Regions from separate parts of the Homo sapiens genome. Here all the other regions are linked to region 1. Evidence: promoter capture Hi-C in human tissues and cell types (Jung and others, 2019). All regions are on one chromosome and are shown on one strand. Each heading gives the region's core, a stretch centred on a gene start or on the middle of the fragment in contact. The rest is flanking DNA. Distances are from core to core; before and after follow the strand shown. Region 1 holds the start of ARC (activity regulated cytoskeleton associated protein). Region 2 has its middle 30 kb from the start of LY6L. Region 3 has its middle 11 kb from the start of LY6L.

What was found. Contacts are between HindIII fragments. The study calls those that stand out against the background at their distance.
Region 2: a fragment that was not itself captured here is called in contact with the fragment with the promoter of ARC in region 1 in 1 of the 25 tissues and cell types used here (lymphoblastoid cells).
Region 3: a fragment that was not itself captured here is called in contact with the fragment with the promoter of ARC in region 1 in 1 of the 25 tissues and cell types used here (lymphoblastoid cells).

Annotation. Positions count from the first base shown.
Region 1 is chr8:142,612,486-142,616,810 of GRCh38, reverse strand. It overlaps ARC (activity regulated cytoskeleton associated protein), which reads left to right and starts at 2,332. Exons shown (of 3, transcript NM_015193.5): 1 at 2,332-4,325. The coding sequence starts at 2,540. The coding sequence ends at 3,730. RefSeq lists a silencer at 2,016-2,225 and an enhancer at 2,241-3,139. The HindIII fragment of the contact is 38,144 bases long and covers 1-4,325 here.
Region 2 is chr8:143,108,294-143,112,618 of GRCh38, reverse strand. No RefSeq gene overlaps it. Among named protein-coding and RNA genes, the nearest start is that of LY6L, 30 kb to the right of the region's middle. The HindIII fragment of the contact is 5,687 bases long and covers 1-4,325 here.
Region 3 is chr8:143,089,454-143,093,778 of GRCh38, reverse strand. No RefSeq gene overlaps it. Among named protein-coding and RNA genes, the nearest start is that of LY6L, 11 kb to the right of the region's middle. The HindIII fragment of the contact is 3,258 bases long and covers 358-3,615 here.

The DNA of each region.
Region 1 (4,325 bases), core at 1,083-3,582:
CAAGGGCCTGGCTCCTGCCCAGCCCTGCCTTGCTCACCGGGCCACCTTGGGCACTCACCCTTCTCCAGGCCTGGCTCCCTCCACACAGGTGAGGGAACTGAGGCAGCGGCACCACCTATGACCTTGGCTCACGTGTCCCCAGTCCTGCCTCCTTGTCAGCTTGCTGATGCCTTGGGTGGGGGTGGCAGCTGGAGGCCACTGCTGGCCAGAGGCCTAAGAGCTGTGCCCTGGCGGGGACGTCAGAGGCCACACGGGCTTGTAAACCCTGGCGGGGCTGGCCCCTGGTCATTGAAGTGCTGGCTCTCACAATGGACACACATGCACGGTCAGTGCCCAGCACCCAGACAACACCTACAGGCTCAGGCTGGCCCCAACCCGGACATGTGGCCCTCGGTGACCGCTGGCTGCACTCACCCAAGGCTGCTGGCGTCTGCCCGTCCCGCATGTGCCCACCCAGCTCCTCTCCCTGGGATTCCGCAGTGGAGAAGCGGGAAGGTCCCTGTGCTGGAGACTTCTCTGCCTGGCTCCCCCTCCCAGCTCCGCGGTGCCCCTCCGCCCTCCCTTCTCTGTCCGCCCACTTACCTTTAATTAGAAATGCCAGGAGAGCCATTTTTGGGGAGTTTTTTTGCCAGAAAGACATTCCCCCCCAGGGGCGGAAGGAAGGAGGAGACAGACTGGCTCTGAGGCTGGGAGAGGGCTCCCCGGGAGAGCCGGTTGGGGGGGGGCTCAGAGGGTTGGCAGGGAGGGGGGATTCCAGCAAGTGGGCACCTGTGTGCCCTTGAGTGCCTGAATAAGACAGGGGATGCTGGGGGGAGCTGAGGGCTGTGAGTGGGGGGTATGAGTGTGTATGTGGGAGCTATGAGTGGGGGGTATGAGTGTGTATGTGGGAGCTATGAGTGGGGGGTATGAGTGTGTGTGGGGGCTGTGAGTGAGGGCATGAGTGTGTGGGGTGGGGTTAGAGTGGGGGCTATGAGTGTGTATGTGGGGGTGTGAGTGTGCAGCATGTGTGTGTCTGAGAGAGGGAAAGGGCAGCTGGCAGCAGGAACAAGATGTCTTGATTGTCAGCGATGATGTCCTCATGGCCCTCTGGCTGTGGGGAATGGTGTGTGTCACCCCTGCCTGGGTAACATCAGAGGACCTGAGACCCATGCCTATCCAGCCAGCACTGGAGTAACTCAGGAAGGGCGTCCCTACCCCCGCCAGGTTGCCAGGGAGGCAGAAGGGACCTCCCTCCCGAGGGAGTCTCGGCTTCCGGAGCCCCGCTCCTTATATGGTGCTTGGCTTCCCTCTGCCTCTCCTGATGGCACTGTGCTGCCAGCACCGGCCCCCCTCCCTCTCCCTCCTCGCCTCTCCTCCCTCCCCTTCTCCTTTCCCTCCTTCCACCTCCCTCCCTGTCTCCCTCTCTCCTCCCCTCTTCCATCCCCTTAGAAGTCTTGGAGCCTCTGGCCAGGTTCTTGATATAGCCAGGGTCTTCAGGGCCCAATTCCCTTCACTGGGGGCTAAATGTCCCCTCCATGTCCTCCAAACCCCAGCCCCCCAGGTAGCAGCTGCCAGATTTCCCTGGAAACACAGAAAAGTATTGGGCCTCACCAGAGACCTGCGTATGGGGGCATGGGGCAGCCCTGTCCAGTCACTGCCACGTGGGCCCCTGTCACCCATGCACACCAACGCCAGGGCCAGGCAGAGCGAGCCTCTGCCTGGCTGTGCGTCCCTCACACAGAGCCCAAGACCTGGACTCAGGACCCGGGCAGGAGTGAGTGGGAGCTCAAAGCCACATCTGGGAGCTCACATGGAGACTTGCTGAGCCCCTGGGCACAGAGGCTGATGGTGAGGGTCCTTCCCGGGCTCAGCTGCACATCCTGCAGAGCTGGGTGGGCGGGGTCAGGGGCAGTGAGGACCCAGGAGAGCAGTGGCCAGCGCCAGCCCCCTCCAGCCCCGCAAAGAGAGAGGCGAGTGGAGAGGAGGAAGGCCACCTTGGGACCCTGGGAGGCAGCAGATGACAGCCCGCCCAGCGCCCGGGAGGGGGCGTGGGAGGGGCGCCCAGTGCCCGGCTCAGTCCCTCGGTCCCCGCAGGCTGAATGAGCCCCGCCGTCCGGGGTGGGAGGTACGGAGCGGAGGGATTAGTCATCCTGGCCCCGCCATGTGTGCAGGGGGTGGGACCTCCCGTCCCTTGCCGCCCGGGAGCCGAGTGGGCGCAGGGCGGGGCCTGCAGGGGCGCGGGCGGGGCGCTGGCGGGGAGCCTGCGGCTGGGCCAATGAGAAACCGGGCTCGGCGAGCCGGCCGCCCACGGGCCTCGCTGGCTGCATAAAGAGCCGGCGGCCAGGACTCAGCGCAGAGCTCGGGCGCGGCGTCCTCCCTCCGCAGCAGCCGAGCCGGACCTGCCTCCCCGGGCGTGCTCCGCCGGCCCCGCCGCCGGCCCGCAGCGACAGACAGGCGCTCCCCGCAGCTCCGCACGGGACCCAGGCCGCCGGACCCCAGCGCCGGACCACCCTCTGTCCGCCCCGAGGAGTTTGCCGCCTGCCGGAGCACCTGCGCACAGATGGAGCTGGACCACCGGACCAGCGGCGGGCTCCACGCCTACCCCGGGCCGCGGGGCGGGCAGGTGGCCAAGCCCAACGTGATCCTGCAGATCGGGAAGTGCCGGGCCGAGATGCTGGAGCACGTGCGGCGGACGCACCGGCACCTGCTGGCCGAGGTGTCCAAGCAGGTGGAGCGCGAGCTGAAGGGGCTGCACCGGTCGGTCGGGAAGCTGGAGAGCAACCTGGACGGCTACGTGCCCACGAGCGACTCGCAGCGCTGGAAGAAGTCCATCAAGGCCTGCCTGTGCCGCTGCCAGGAGACCATCGCCAACCTGGAGCGCTGGGTCAAGCGCGAGATGCACGTGTGGCGCGAGGTGTTCTACCGCCTGGAGCGCTGGGCCGACCGCCTGGAGTCCACGGGCGGCAAGTACCCGGTGGGCAGCGAGTCAGCCCGCCACACCGTTTCCGTGGGCGTGGGGGGTCCCGAGAGCTACTGCCACGAGGCAGACGGCTACGACTACACCGTCAGCCCCTACGCCATCACCCCGCCCCCAGCCGCTGGCGAGCTGCCCGGGCAGGAGCCCGCCGAGGCCCAGCAGTACCAGCCGTGGGTCCCCGGCGAGGACGGGCAGCCCAGCCCCGGCGTGGACACGCAGATCTTCGAGGACCCTCGAGAGTTCCTGAGCCACCTAGAGGAGTACTTGCGGCAGGTGGGCGGCTCTGAGGAGTACTGGCTGTCCCAGATCCAGAATCACATGAACGGGCCGGCCAAGAAGTGGTGGGAGTTCAAGCAGGGCTCCGTGAAGAACTGGGTGGAGTTCAAGAAGGAGTTCCTGCAGTACAGCGAGGGCACGCTGTCCCGAGAGGCCATCCAGCGCGAGCTGGACCTGCCGCAGAAGCAGGGCGAGCCGCTGGACCAGTTCCTGTGGCGCAAGCGGGACCTGTACCAGACGCTCTACGTGGACGCGGACGAGGAGGAGATCATCCAGTACGTGGTGGGCACCCTGCAGCCCAAGCTCAAGCGTTTCCTGCGCCACCCCCTGCCCAAGACCCTGGAGCAGCTCATCCAGAGGGGCATGGAGGTGCAGGATGACCTGGAGCAGGCGGCCGAGCCGGCCGGCCCCCACCTCCCGGTGGAGGATGAGGCGGAGACCCTCACGCCCGCCCCCAACAGCGAGTCCGTGGCCAGTGACCGGACCCAGCCCGAGTAGAGGGCATCCCGGAGCCCCCAGCCTGCCCACTACATCCAGCCTGTGGCTTTGCCCACCAGGACTTTTGAGCTGGGGCTGACTCCTGCAGGGGAAGCCCTGGTCCAGCTGGGTGCCCCCTCGAGCTCCGGGCGGACTCGCACACACTCGTGTCATCCAGATGTGAGCACCGCACCCAGCGGCAAAGAGCCCTCCCCCCTGCAGGGCTCCACCCATCACCCTCCCTCCGTCTGTCTTTCCGGCCTGGACCCCACCCTCCACACTCTCAGGCCATCACAGAACACCCCAGCTTCCTCATTCTGCTACAACACCCAGGCCCTCTGGACATCCAGAAAACCAAGTGTCCGGATGGCAGGGGCCAGCGGCCACCAAGCTCATGGGACACCCAGAGCAGAAGCTAGGGCAGAGCCAATGCTGAGGGAGCCTCGACTTCCGGCGCCGCCGCCCTCTCCCGGCATCCGCAGAGCCAGCTGACGCCCTCCCTGCCTCCCAGGGCAGCTGGCCAGCCTCGGGCAGCGCGGCCCCCTCCTCCCAGGGGAGAGTAGAAGTCGCACACGCAGCAGAGCAGACCTGATGTCCCGGTGCTTCCTGGCCCCTC
Region 2 (4,325 bases), core at 1,210-3,709, 500 kb before region 1:
GCTGCATACGGGTTTCCTTTCATCTTGAAACATAGCCTGGGAATGTGCTGTGGCCTCCCCTCCCCTTCTTTTTCTATTCCATGCTGTCACACCTTACACACACTTATTTACCTGGATGCTTGTTAAGCTCACACCATGCTCACTTCTCTGGTGATGTATTTCCTTAGAAGTTTCAGGGGCCGGATCCTGCTATGGACCAGACACTTCCAGCCACGATGGCCCTGGCCCCTTCACCAGATGGAACAATAATTCGAGATGAGCCATGGGACTGGTTCCTGCCACCCGACACCTCCTCATCACCTGCCTCTTCTGCATTCCAAACCCTCTCTTTAAAATCCCCTGCGTTCCCTCCACAAATGGAAGAGTGGAATTGCTTTGTGCTCATCCCTTTGCTGGTACGGATAATAAAGTCTCACTCTCTTTCTATCACACCTCATTATTATTTTGGCTTCTTTCTACAAGTGGTGAGCAGCCTCACCCTTCTGCTGGTCACAAGTGCAGCAGAATGGAAGAGCACGTGTGGGCTGATGTGAGACCCACAGCTCACTGCTGAACAATGGCAGATGAGTGTGTGTGATCCAGACGCACAGATTATTCCTGAGGGAACGGCCAGCCTGGTGGGCTGGATAAAAGGCACTGTAAGAGAAGGGGACCACCCAACTTTCCCCATAAACGCCAAGTGGAGCACCCCCGATGAAGCAGCTGATGTGCTTCGTAAGCAAGCCATGTGGGACTGACTTTATGATGACCGGGATATTCACGGCTGAGTATGCCCAGATCATGGTAAATGCTGTGGTTAAGGGGGCCCATTGGCCTGGGCACCTCATTGGGTCTCAACTTCCCCTCATGGGTCATCCAGATGCTTATAAAAACTTTAGGCTAATTAATAAAATTATTGGGAAAGGCAAAAGGGAGTCCAAGGACTCATCCTAGGAAGGGGAAAATTTTTAAACGATTAGTTTTAAATAGGTAAAAAATGGGCCAGGCCTGGTGGCTCACGCCTGTAATCTCAGCACTTTGAGGGGCAGAGGTGGGCAGACCACCTGAGATCAGGAGTTCGAGACTGGCCTGGCCAACATGGCGAAACCTCATCTCTACTAAAAATACAAAAATTAGCCAGGTGTGGTGGCGCGCACCTGTAATCCCAGCTACTCAGGAGACTGAGGGAGGAGAATTGCAGTGAGTCAAGACTGCCACTGCACTCCAGCCTGGGTGGCAGAGTAAGACTCCATCTCAAAAAAAAGGTAAAAAGTGGATGGGGTGAAACCAAGAGGAAAAAGGAAAGGAGAGAGTCATGGGGTGCATCCTAGCGGGGTGGAATCTGTACATGGTTGTTAAGCAATGGAATGAATAATGGGGGGTTATTCACAAAGGTCTTAATACAACACTATCGAAAGTTGGGTGAACAAAGGGAGCCCCCGCTGGTCCCTCAACAGTAAAGAGCTCCAAAACAGTTTTTGCCAGATTGGAGAAGGCACTCTAACTATAAAAATTGGAAGGCAAAAGTTACACTGAGCAAACTGACCAACAATTGCGGGGGCCAATGTTGAGGTGGGTTAATCAAGATAAGATTGACAGAAGGGCCAGGGTCCCTTGGATCAAGCCCCTGTGGGGCACCCACATCCTTTTTCACAAGAGAGGGTAAAATGGTCTGGAGGTGGGAAAAAGAAGTTCCTGGGAGCAGAACAGAAAGACGTCGAGTTATGAAAGTCGACTTGTGTGATAGAGTTATGAAAGCCGAGATGTTTAAACAGGCTTTATGTAAGGCATTACATATCCTTTACCTAAATGCTTTATGAAAATGGATATTGAAGCTGGTACAGTGGTTCACACCTGTAATCCTAGCACTTTGGGAGGCCGAGGTGGGCGGATCACTTGGGGTTAGGAGTTCAAGACCACCCTGACCAACATGATGAAACCCCATCTATACTAAAAATACAAAAATTAGCCGGGCATGGTGGCATGCACCTGTAGTCCCAGCTATTGGGGAGGCTGAGGCAGGAGAATTGCTTGAACCCAAGAGGCAGAGGCTGCAGTGAGCCGAGATTGTGCCATTGCACTCCAGCCTGGGCAATAGAGACTCAGGAAAAAAAAAAAAAAGGAAAATGGAAAATGGATATTGTACGTGGACTGGGGAAACCCCTACCTACTACTGCAAAAGTAAAGGCATGAAAAAATCAACGAAAAGAGTCAAACTGTAAAATATTGGAAGAGATTTATTCTGAGCCAAATATGAGAGACTGTGGCCCATGACACGGCCTCAGGAGACCGTGAGAACAAGTGCCCAAGGTGTTTGGGCCACAACTTGGTTTTATAAATTTTAGGGAGCCATGAGACACCAATCAATACAGGGAAGACATACATTTGTTCGATCAGGAAAGGTGGGACAACTTGAAACAGGGACTTCCAGGTCATAGGTAGATTCAAAGATTTACTGATTGGCAATTGGTTGAAGGAGTTACTATCTAAAGACCTGGAATCAAAAGAAGGAATGTCTGGGTTAATGAGGGATTGTGGTGACCAAGTTCCTATTACACAGAGAAAGCCTCCAGGTAGCTTCAGAGAGAACAGATTGTAAATGTTTCTTACCAGAGTTGATTCTCTCTTGAATCAGGGAAAAGTCCTGAAAAAGGAAAAGGATTCTCTTCAGAATGCAGCTTTTCCCCACAAGAGAAAGCTTTGCAAGGCTATTTCAAGACATGGCAAAGAAACACAATTTGCGGTAAAATACTTCAATTTCATTCAGTGAATCCTTCGCTTGGCTTCCTACCCTTGAGGCTTTTAATAAGTTGAGTCCAAAATTCCCTAAAAAAGTTCCAGCAAAGCCAACTTAAAAAGAGCCGACCAGCTTAGGCAACATGCTGAGACCCTGTCTCTACAAAACATAAAAAATGAGCTGGGTGTGGTGGGGTGTGCCAAGGGTCCCAGCTACTCGGGAGGCTGAGGCAGGAGGAGTGTTTGAGCCTGAGAGGCTGAGGCTGCAGTGAGCTCTGATTGCACCATTGTACTCCAGCATGGCTGACAGAGCAAGCCCCTGTCACAGGGAAAAAAAAAAAAAAAAAAAGCCTCTAGGGCTGGTAACTATTCTTGCCACGCTTCATGCAAATAGGCCAAGTATAATGAGACCGAAATTTATTTTGCAAATAAACTGGTCCTACTATGATTTATCCTTGGTAGAAATGGGGAAACTAGAGAGAGAAAAATTTAGATCCTAGCTCTGACCGTTGTTTTTGAGTTATTATTTGCTTACAATTTGGGCTAATCCTGAATCATTCACTGGCTACAAGTCTCTAAAGAAAAACCGGGTTTTAGTTTCCTTCACGATGCTTTTAGTCGGCTTCTTAATGAAATAGGTTCTTTTTTGTTACTGTTCTGAAATACAAATTCCCTTTTGATTGTCATCCTTGTGTGCAAATTATTAATGTTATGTATCTCTTGTTGTTTTATTTTCTCTGAGAAAACAGAAGTCGTGGTATCCTGAAGACTAGAGATGATTCAACAGCCGGTGACCCTCCCTCACTGGGACTCTCACCGGGCCCGACCTGTTTTCCGACGCCAAGGCACCGCTGCTGAAGCCAGACAACCCCAAGCACCCTCCCTAAGGCTCAGGGACCATCGCGGAAGAGGAGGGCAGGTGAGACGGTCAGAGCTGGATTAGTGGGGCGGCGCGGGCGGATCATGGAGGCCGAAGCCGCTCCATCTTGGACGCTAGTTTGTCGTGTTGGCTTCTGATTAACCTCAGTTCCGGGAATGCCTCTGAGAGTTCCCGTTCATCTGTTGTTCCTTGTGTAAGAGCACATCCTTATCACAAGTCCTGGCCTTAGGGAAATTCCTGCCCACCCCCTCTGAGGCATGTCCCCTGCACTATGGCAATAGAAGCCCTGGGCCTGGGTGGTGACGGCGCAGGGAGCCGCCATCTTGACTCACCGTAGCCTGAGACTGACATGGCTTCTGTTTCTAAGTCCCTATTAAATGTTTCTTTTTAAGAACTGAATTTGTGGGCCAGGCGCGGTGGCTCACGCCTGTAATCTCAGCACTTTGGGAGACCGAGGTGGGCATTTCACGAGGTCAGGAGATCGAGACCATCCTGGCTAACCCGGTGAAACCCCGTCTCTACTAAAAATACAAAAAATTAGCCGGGCGTGGTGGCGGGCGCCTGTAGTTCCAGCTACTCGGGAGGCTGAGGCAGGAGAATGGCGTGAACCCGGGAAGCGGAGCTTGCAGTGAGCCGAGATGGCGCCACTGCACTCCAGCCTGGGCGACAGAGCAAGACTCTGCCTCAAAAGAAAAAAAAAAAAAAAGATGTGAATTTGTCAGCCTCTTTC
Region 3 (4,325 bases), core at 737-3,236, 480 kb before region 1:
ACAGAACAAGACCCTATCTCAAAGATAAATGAATAAATATAAGACCACCAGCCATCACCCCAAACCACTGGGAGAAGAGGACATGGTGCCGGGAGGGCCACGGGCGTGCCGAGGGCTGCATGCCCATCAGCACATCAGCGAGGGAGTTTTTGAGGGAAGGTGGCTTGCAGCCAAAATTCAAAATGTGCCTCTCTTATCTAGACGGGTGACAGAGGATGCAAAACCACGTACAGCAGGGTGGCGGCCTGGCCAGGTGGGGCTTTGAGGCCTTTGAAAGTAACAAGCCAGCTCTGCACCTGCTAGCCCCCAAAATACTCAGAAATTATCACAAAGAAAGAGGAGGGTGACGGTGCGGCAGCTCATGCCTGTAATCCCAGCAGTTTGGGAAGCTGAGGCAGAGGATTACTTGAGCCCAGGAGTTTGAGACCAGCCAGAGCAACATAGTGAGACCCCATGTCTACAAAATAAAAATAATAAACAAATAAATAAGAATGAAAGAAGACAGAGACACATGGCTGGCATGTCCTGGGGATGCCCACTGGTGCCTGTGTCCCGGGGATGCCCGCTGGTGCCTGCTGTAGAGTGGAGAGTTGAACTGCACTGTGGCTTATGCCCTTTGGAACCAGAGCAGGGAGAGGACTTCCTGTTACCCAGGGTCCTCCCATGGAATTGGAATGTACATCAATTCTCTATCTGGTCACCCCAAAAGAGATGGGTGTCATTGGCTCTCTGGACTCCTGGCTGCTCCCCTCCCCTCCAGGCGTATGTGGCATCCCACGGCCTGCTTTTCCTAAGGGATCCAGAGGCCCAGCATGGAGTCCCCAGCTGAGTCCACGAGGAGGATGAAGGGAGGGGAGGCTGCCCAGGCCGGAACTCAAAGTCTAGGTCCCCTAACCCTGGACCCCCAGGCCCTGCTCACAGCTGGGCAGGAGCCCGTGGAGGGAACCACGGAGCTCAGAAGCCCACCCCCACCCTCTCCAGGGACTGTCCCGGCTGGCCCTGCCCTGTGTGGACCACCGCAAGCTGGAAGAAACCCAGGCTTTCCTGGGCACTGCAGGAGACTGGCTTGTAGGCCTGCTGGCATTGGTGTGGAGGCAGTGGTAGCATGACAGGCTTCAGTTTGCAGGAGGAGGGGTGAGGGCAGAGCCATGGGCTCCGAGCACACCTGGGTCTGGGCCCAGCCACTACCATGTGAAGATGCCCAAAGACCCCAAGCTCATAGCACCTCAGGTGACACCCTCAACCCTGAGCACACATTCTCCACCCTGGGGCCGGTGTTCACAGCCGTGGGTGTGAAGCCACATAGCATCCCACTCCGCTGCAGGGTCACAGGGCAAAATGCACTCAGCACAGCAGGCCTGCGTTGTCCTCAAGGAAACATGCGCCTTACACCACAGAGACACAGCTGGCCTTTCCTTCCACCCCGTCCTGGTGTCTTCACCTTTCTCTGCATACACCAGCATGGGCCCCAGGATCAGGAGAACCCTGTCCATTACGCAGGCAGCAGGTCTACACTGGGAGCAGAGGCAGAACCTCGCCAGGGCCCCGACCCCTGCTCTCTCCCCTCAACCATTGGTCCTGCCCCTGGACGCCTCCTCTGTGCCCACTGGGATGTGTCCTCCTGGCCCCTCCAGCCCTATCCTCACAGGGGTCTGCATCCCAGGGACCCTCGCCTGAATCCCCCTCCTGCCCCTTCCCTCAGACCTGGGCTGGGCCTGACAGAGGACAGAGGTACTGGGGAGGATTCCTGGGGTTCTTACGCAGCAACCTTGGAGGCCCAAGGAGGAGGATGCAGCCATCACAGCCCGGGGTGAGATGCAGGTCCACCCCCTTCCAGACTCAGCCCCAGCCTCAGCTCTGATGCATCCCCTCTTTGTCTAACAGTCCCCAAAAGTAGGGCAAGGGGCTCCACACTGTGGGGACACCAGGGACCATGAAGACTGGGAGCAGACCCAGAAGTCTCTGAGCTCCTGAAAGGACAGTGACCAAGGCTGAGAAAATGTGGGGAGGACAGTTTGTTTTCTCAAGTTAATGTTCAGTGAAACAAACTGCTTCCTCGGCTCTCACCCTGTGAGCGTGATGGACGCCACATGCCCCCGGCACTCAGGCACTCAGGCACTCAACCCTGGAAGCTTGAACAAGGACATCCAGGGCTTTGATTTCATCTAGCATGTCCAGATCTTATCATTCTCAAAAGTTTTCTGTATCTCTTAAGACCATATTCTCTGACACAGTGAAGTCATACATTCATAACAAAAAGGATAAATACATATTTTCACAAGTAAAAATGCAAAAAGTACATTCCAAATGAACAGATTCTTTAAAAAGAGAAGATCTTAAATATTTTTTTAAAAACCTAGAACAGATGAATGAAGAAAATACCACTTCTCAAAATGGGATGCAGTGAAGGGTGGTAGCTGAGCAAAATGCATATCCTGCGTCCTTACATGAAAGAAAAATAAAGGGGAACATTCTGTTGGGGGTTCATTTTTAACTTTTCAATTTTCTTTTGTTGTTGTTGTTTTAACTTCTACTCAAGACAGCTTGGATTAACTTTTCATTTTGAAATAGTTTCAGGTTTATTAAAAAGTTGCAAAAAAAGTACAAGAATTATGCCGTCTGCTTTATATAGATTTTCCAAGTCTTAACATTTTTCATAACTATAGTACAATGATCAAAACCACAGAATCAGCACTGATACAACTTATAATCTAATCTATAGACCTCATTCACATTTCAGCCATTGTCCCCCTCACAGCCTTCTCTAGTCCAGCATCTAATCCAAGCTCACACGTTTCACTTGGTTGTCCAGCCCCTTTAGTCTGCTTTAACCTGGAACGGGTCCTCAGCATGGATTTATTTCGTGACCTGACACTTTTGAAGAGTAAAGGCCAACTGTTTTGTAGAAAGCCCCATCATTTGGGATTGTTGCTTAAGTGTGCTGTTCTATGTATTCACACTGACACCTCTTTCCCATGGCCATAATATTCTGTATTTCCTTCCTTCCTTGTGTACTTTTGATCTCTTTTCTCCCACAGTGACAATGCTGGCTTGTGACAAAACCAATTTATTTCAACAGTTTAATGATAATATATCTGCATCTGTATTTATCCTATTTGAATTCACTGGGCTTTTGAATCTATAATCTTTAGGTTTATGTCCTTTTTCAAAATTGAAACATTATCAGTCATTAGTTCTTCAGATCTCATTTCTGTACTCCACTCTTTCTCCTCTCCTTCTGGGCCACCAATTATACAGCTGTTGGACTTTTTGGTATTGTTCCTGAGGTGCTGTTCATTTTTTGTTTTGTTTTGTTTTGAGACAGAGTCTCCCTCTGTCACCCAGGCTGGAATGCAGAGGTGCGATTTTGGCTCACTGCACCCTCTACCTCCCGAGTTCAAGTGATTCTCCTGCCTCAGCCTCCTGAGTAGCTGGGATTGCAGGCACCTGCCACCATGCCCAGCTAATTCTTGTATTTTCAGTAGAGATGGGATTTTGCCATGTTGGCCAGGGTAGTCTTGAACTCCTGACCTCAGGTGATACATCTGCCTCGGCCTCCCAAAGTATTGGGATTATAGGTGTGAGCCACTGAGCCCTGCCTCATTTTTTTTTAAATCAGTGTCTTTTGTGTTGTTCAAATTGGACAACTGCCATAACAACTCTTTCCCTTTTCATTTCCATTCTCCTGTTGGCCCAGCCAGAGACTGCTTTATCCTGGTGATTATGTTTCCAGTGGTGCAATTCCCACTTGGTCATTCTTTGTACATTCCACTTTCTCCCTGAGCCTTCTTATCTTTCCATTTATCTCAAGAGTGTTTGCCATTACTTGCTAGAGAATGCTTATGATAATTACTTTAAAGATGTTGGTGATTCCAACCCTCATGTCATCTCAGCACTGGCAGCTACTGATTGCCATTTTCCTTGCTCATTGAGATTTTCCTGATTTTTTGTAGAAGTAATTTTGGATTGTGTCCTGGGCGTTTTGAATGTTGTGAGACTCTGTGTCTTATTTAAGTGGTATGGAGAATGCTGCTAGTTTTGTTTTAGCAGCAATTGATGTGGTTGGGCTTATGTTGCAAGTGCAGAGCAACCTGCAGAGGCTGTGGCTTCCACATCAGCTCAGTCTTTAAAGCCTCATGGTGTTTGGGTATGCAGGTCACTCTCACGTCTCGGTGGAGGTAGATCCCCTCACCTGGTTCTCATAGTCTATTCCATCGAGGGTCACATCCATGCATGCCCAGCTCGGGAGTGAGCCAGAGGTTTTACTGACAACACGATGGATTGCTTTCCAAAGTTCCTCATTACCTGCAGTTTCTCTGATGCTG